Linked DNA regions of Homo sapiens: region 1 is linked to region 2. The links are contacts of gene promoters, found by promoter capture Hi-C in human tissues and cell types (Jung and others, 2019). All regions are on one chromosome and are shown on one strand. The core of a region is centred on a gene start or on the middle of the fragment in contact, and the rest is flanking DNA. Distances in the headings are between cores, read along the strand shown. Region 1 holds the start of ZNF799 (zinc finger protein 799). Region 2 holds the start of YIPF2 (Yip1 domain family member 2).

The links. Contacts are between HindIII fragments. The study calls those that stand out against the background at their distance.
Region 1: a contact is called between the fragment with the promoter of ZNF799 here and the fragment with the promoter of YIPF2 in region 2, in 1 of the 25 tissues and cell types used here (hippocampus).

The regions. Positions count from the first base shown.
Region 1 is chr19:12,399,735-12,402,716 of GRCh38, forward strand. It overlaps ZNF799 (zinc finger protein 799), which reads right to left and starts at 1,537. Exons shown (of 4, transcript NM_001080821.3): 1 at 1,334-1,537. The coding sequence starts at 1,336. RefSeq lists enhancers at 832-921, 1,642-1,691 and a silencer at 1,152-1,311. The HindIII fragment of the contact is 18,323 bases long and covers 1-2,982 here.
Region 2 is chr19:10,927,222-10,930,260 of GRCh38, forward strand. It overlaps YIPF2 (Yip1 domain family member 2), which reads right to left and starts at 1,418. Exons shown (of 10, transcript NM_001321439.2): 1 at 1,290-1,418; 2 at 1,159-1,219; 3 at 578-738; 4 at 409-495. The coding sequence starts at 1,189. It overlaps TIMM29 (translocase of inner mitochondrial membrane 29), which reads left to right and starts at 1,590. Exons shown (of 2, transcript NM_138358.4): 1 at 1,590-1,695; 2 at 1,793-3,033. The coding sequence starts at 1,602. The coding sequence ends at 2,481. RefSeq lists enhancers at 49-751, 752-1,452 and silencers at 1,666-1,945, 1,986-2,035. The HindIII fragment of the contact is 42,517 bases long and covers 1-3,039 here.

The DNA.
Region 1 (2,982 bases), core at 287-2,786, 1.5 Mb after region 2:
CTGGGCTCCAGCCATCATCCCACCTCAGCCTCAGGAGTAGCTGCGACTACAGGTGCCAGCTACCAAGCCCAGCTAATTTTATTATTATCATTTATACTAGAGACAAGGTCTTGCCATGTTGCCCAGGCTGGTCTGGAACTACTAAGATTAAGCAATACCTCTGCCTTAGCCTCCCAAGGTGCTGGAATTACAGGAATGACCCACCGTGTTCAGGAACCCAAAATAATTCTTTCAAGAAAAAGCCATACATTGCTAGCTGAAAACAAGATGACAAACTAGTGAAATATCGCCTGGGGGCCAAACAGTTCATACCGTTGCTGTGAATTAAGGACAGAAGGTTAGCCTGGGGAAGTCTCTGGAAACCAAGAGATTTGCTGCCAGCCCTAGGAGGAGTCAGGATGAGAGAACACAGTGGTGGATTTGAGACCCTGCTAACCACATCTTTGGAAGACTCAGAGGGGAAACGGTCGCCCTTGGAAAGAAAGAAGGGACTGAGGACCACGGAGACCACAGCTCCTCCCACACACAAACCCCACACACGAGTCTGGATTCCACCTGGTGACTCGTCGTCACCGTGCAGCCTCCTCACCGGGTTCACAGGAACTGCGAGCCAGGCTGGAGGCGAGATTGCAGTTAGATATTAACCAGGTGCCCTCAGCCCCGCTGCCTCAAGGGGCCGCCTCCCTGAGAGTCAGGTCACAGCAGACGCTGACCGCCGGCTTCCCCATTGTGCCTGGGGATAAGATCTCTGAGAACTGCTCAAGAGTCGCCGGAGTTCTCAGATCCTGAATCCCAGCAAAGGCTGGCGCCAATCAGGTTGAAGTCCCAACGAGGGAGCCCATTCAGCAGAATGCGGTTTCTTCACCTCCTGTCCCAGGATTCACCCCTCACTTCCCCACCAACCAACGACCCTACACCCAGCCGCCCCCGTCCAGACCCCAAATCCCTCAGGGAGGCGGATCTGGGGTGTCCTCCCCTCTCTGGCTATTAAACTGTTTCTGCTGCAGCCCTCAGCGTCTCGGTGCAGTGAGTCGGGCCGCGAACCTGTGTTGCTTACAGCCGCACAATCTCGGGAGACGCGAGGCTGCGGGCGCGGAGCTGCCCAGAGAGGGCGCCGGGGCCGCAGTCGCCGCGCAGGAACGGGACAGGACGCCCGGGGTCCCGGCTGCATGCCCAGCCCCACCCTGCGGCCGAGGGCCGACCTACGCCAGGGGAACCCGGGTCCGTAGATCCCGGAGTAGCCCTTGGGGAGGCCCGGGTCCAGCCACAGCCGATTACTGCAGGTTCCACCCAGCCCCTCCCCCGCCTCGGGACGCCGGCCCAGCACACGCACCATTTCCCGACTTCCGCGGTGTCCCAGGTCCTCCGGACGGCTCCCGCTGCCAATGCGGGTTCCCGCGGGACACAGGCTGCCACGGAACTTCCAGGTCGTCTCTTAGCTACAGAGCCGAGCACCGAGCGCCCAGCGCAGGTGGGTGGAGAAGACGCCGCGGGCTTTTTCAACCACACACTCCTCTGGGAAGCGCGCCTGATTGACAGTTCCCACGAACCCGCCCCACGGCCCTTACTGGATACGGCGTCAGGTGCCGCCCCTCGTGGACTGATTGACAGAAGAAGCGATCTTGCACAGCTGAGTGGAGCCAGATGAGCAAGTTCCTGACACAGCCCTTGGCAGGGCGGGCTTCCTCCCTGCTCTTTGATCTGAATCCTCCCGAGGGATATTTGCACTTAAGCGGAATTTCCTGCCTGTACTCAATAGGACCTCCTGCTTCTTCCTCCTGTACACTGACTGACAAAACAATTATACTTTTTTTTTTTTTTTTTTTTTTTTTTCCGAGAGAGAGAGAGAGAGAGAGAGAGAGAGAGGGAGTCTTGCTCCGTGGCTCAGGCTAGAGTGCAATGGTGCGAGGCTCACTGCGACCTCCGCCTCCTAGGTGGGTTCAAACAATTCTGCCTCAGCCTCCCGAGTAGCTGGGATTACAGGTGCGCGCCACCACACCCGGCTAATTTTTGTATGTTTTAGTAGAGGCCGGGTTTCACCATGTTGGCCAGGCTGGTCTCGAACTCCTGACCTCGTGATCCGCCCACCTTGGCCTCCCAAAGTTCTGGGATTAGAGACGTGAGCCATCGCGCCTGGCTCCAATTATACTCTTTTTCAATGAAATTTTTCAAAATATTTCAATGTACAATTAAATTATTTTTTACTATAGTCACTCTGTTGTGCTAGCAAATACTAGGTCTTATTCATTCTTTGTAACTATTTTTTATACCTATTAACCATCCCCACTTCCCCCATAACTACTCCTCGCTACTACTTTTCCCAGCCTGTGGTAACCATCCTTCTACACGTTTTTGGTTGTTTGAGATGGGGTCTTGCTCTGTTGCCTAGGCTGGAGTGCAGTGGGGCCATCATGGCTCACTGCAACCTCTACCTCCCAAGCTCAAGCAATCCTCCCACCTCAGCCTCTCAAGTAGCTTCAGATTGTTCACTGTTGGCATATAAAAATGTTACTGATTTTTGTATGTTAATATTGTATCCTGCAACTTTACTGAATTTATTTCTCAGTTCTAATACTTTTTTGGTGGAGTCTTTAGGTATTTCCAGATATAAGATCATATTATATGCAAACCAGGATAATTTGACTTCTTCCTTTCCTTCCCAATATAGATGCCCTTTATTTCTTTTTTTTTTTTTTTTTGGACTTATTGCTCTAGCTGGGACTTCGAGTACTGTGCTGAACAACAGTGGTAAAAGTGGGCATTCTTATTGTGTTCCAGATCTTACAGGAAAGGCTTTCAGTTTTTCCTCATTCATTATCATGCTAGCTGTGGGTCTGCCATATATGGCTTTTATTATGTTAAGGTAGCTGCTTCTATACCCAGTTTTTTTTTAGGGTTTTTATCATGAAGGGATGTTAAATATTATCAAAAGCTTTTTCAGTGCACATTGAAATGATTATATGGTGTTTGCCCTTTATTCTG
Region 2 (3,039 bases), core at 168-2,667:
TGGTCTTGAACTCCTCAGGTTATCTGCCCACCTCGGCCCCCTTAAGTGCTGGGATTACAGGCAGGAGCCACTGCGCCCAGTCCATCTTTGGTCTTCTGCATATGCTGTTCCCTGTGCCTGGAACATATACTCCTGCTTCCCTACCCTATTCCCCAGGGAAGCCTTCTGTCTCCTTTAGGTCTCAGCCAATTCCTCACCTCCCCCAGGAGGCCTTTCTCTAACCCACCAGATTGTGTGTGTCCCCTGTGTTCCCATAGTCCCGATCCATAACCAGTCCCACCATAACCCTTTGAGAGCACCACAGTTCGTTCACCAGCACCCACCATCACCAGCACCCTGCCCAGGGGAAGAGTGGCTGAACCCTGAGCATAACTCTGAGCCCCATCCCACCTGCCTCCCCAGCCTGACCTGTGAGGTGTCCACGTCAAAGAAGCTCTGATAGTAGCTGAAGGTCCAGAATCCCGGCTGCTGCTGCTGCTGCTGCTCCTGCAGGAGCTGCACATTGCGGGCATTCAGTGCCTGCCCGGAGAGCCTGGGTCAGCTGGGGGCTGCAAGGAGGCAGGACACAGGGACTCACCGCGGCCTTGTCACTCTCCTCCTCCACCTCATCCTCGGCTCCATAGCTGCCACCTGAGCCCACGGCCACAGCCACGTGCCCTTGTGGGGTCAGCTGATCGCTTCTGCTGGTGGTGGCTGCATCTGGGGTGTCAGCCAGAAGATTAGTGGCCTCCTCGAATTCTGTGGAGGAGGTATATGGGACACACGCACGTTTGAGGGGTGGAAAGAACTCGACTGGGCCCAAGCTAAACCGATGCTCATCTGGGGGCGGAGGCTCTGCTGAGCCATTGATCTCCCCCAAGGTGGGGCCCAACTTCCTCAGTTTGGAGGCATCCGGAGGACATCTGTTCCCTTCCTCCTAAAGTGGAACTGCAACTTAGGGTTGACGCTGGGATGGGGTCAGGGTCTGGGGACGAGAGGCTCGGGTTTGAGGTCTGAGTTCAGGGCGGGGGCGGGGTTCGAGTCAGAGATGGGTCTCACTCCTGGGTCAGGGTTCACAGCCGCCTAGGCTTCGGGGTAGAGAAATTGGAAGCCGTATCGGGGGGAGGTTCTGGCCCGGGGCGGGAGTGGGAGATCCGGCCACGTCGGGGCCGCACTCACCATGGAAGGTCAGCTCGTCGGCCGATGCCATGGTCGTTCAGGGGCGTCTCCGCATCCCTCGCTGAGGACAGAGACCGGTCAGGCACACTTCCCCCCCGCCCCCGAGCCGGTCCCTCGGCCCCCAGCCCTACCTGGCGACCAACTGCACCCACGGAGGCTTGAACTCGTCGTCCCGTCCCCACAGGTGCGCTCCGCCCCCCCTCACCTGAGGCCACCTGGGCCGGCGTGGCTGGGGCTCTCTGCGCCTGCGCGTCTCGCCTACCCGTCAGACTCCAACCGACTCAGACCTGACAGCAACATCCGGCGCCTGTCCTCTTTCTATCCTCTCCCGTTGGGAAGCCACTTCCGGTAAAGTTGGCGCTTGCGCAGAAGAGACTCCCGGGCTCTTAACGTCGGGTATCAGGAGTTTCTTCCCGGAGCAAGGACCCCCAAGACGGAAGAGGATGGCCGCGGCGGCTCTGAGGAGATTTTGGTCCCGGCGCCGCGCAGAGGCGGGCGACGCGGTAGTGGCGAAGCCGGGAGTGTGGGCGCGGCTGGGTGAGTAGCGGCGGAAGGCGGCAGGGTGGGTGGCCGCCGCGACAGGGTGGGTGGCCGCCGCGGCCGGATCACTCTTACCGCGCTCCTCTCCCCTCAGGGTCCTGGGCCCGCGCGCTGCTCCGGGACTACGCCGAGGCCTGCAGGGACGCTTCGGCGGAGGCTAGGGCCCGGCCGGGGCGCGCCGCTGTGTATGTGGGTCTGCTGGGCGGCGCGGCGGCCTGCTTCACGCTGGCGCCCAGCGAGGGTGCCTTCGAGGAGGCGCTGCTGGAGGCGTCGGGGACCCTCCTGCTGCTGGCGCCGGCCACCCGCAACCGCGAGTCCGAAGCCTTCGTGCAGAGGCTGCTCTGGCTGCGGGGCCGTGGCCGCCTGCGCTACGTCAACCTGGGGCTCTGCTCGCTGGTGTACGAGGCGCCCTTCGACGCCCAGGCCAGCCTCTACCAGGCGCGTTGCCGCTACCTGCAGCCCCGCTGGACCGACTTCCCCGGCCGGGTCCTGGACGTGGGCTTCGTGGGTCGCTGGTGGGTGCTGGGGGCCTGGATGCGCGACTGCGACATCAACGACGACGAATTCCTGCACCTGCCGGCGCATTTGCGGGTGGTCGGGCCCCAGCAGCTGCATTCCGAGACCAACGAGCGGCTCTTCGATGAGAAGTACAAGCCTGTCGTGCTCACCGACGATCAGGTGGACCAGGCGCTGTGGGAGGAGCAGGTCTTGCAGAAGGAGAAGAAGGACAGGCTCGCCCTGAGCCAGGCCCACTCGCTGGTGCAGGCGGAGGCCCCGAGATGAAACCCTGAGGCCCCCGAGTCCTGGCAAACTGCTTGCCTGGGGTGGTGCAGTTCTGAGTGTGCCTCACCTGCAGAACAGCTGAGACAGATGATGTGCAAAGTGTTTTCTCACTGGATTTGCACAAGTTTGGGGAGCCTTTCTGCCCCCCGTCTTTGTTCTTTATTAGCTGAAGCTAATTCAGAGCCACCTGGGTCCGGGAGTTGGGGACAGCAGAACGACTTGACACATGTTCATCACTGGCAGAGCTGGTCATGAGCCTTTTATATAAGCCTTTTTCATCGGGCCTCAGAGGCCCTCCTTAAGGAGGTACCACATTGGTCAGCTGACTTGCAAACTCTTCTAAGGCCACTTAGATTTTCTTTTTCAAGTTTGGGTTGTGGCCTGGCATGGTGATGTCTGTAATCCCAGCAGTTTGCAAACTGAGGCAAGAGAATCGCTTGAGGCCAGGAGTTTGAGGCCAGCTAGAGTGACATAGCAAGACTCCGATGCTACAAAAAAGAATAATAATAGTAATTAACTAAATAAAATTTGAGCTGAAATGTTTTTATTCTATGACCT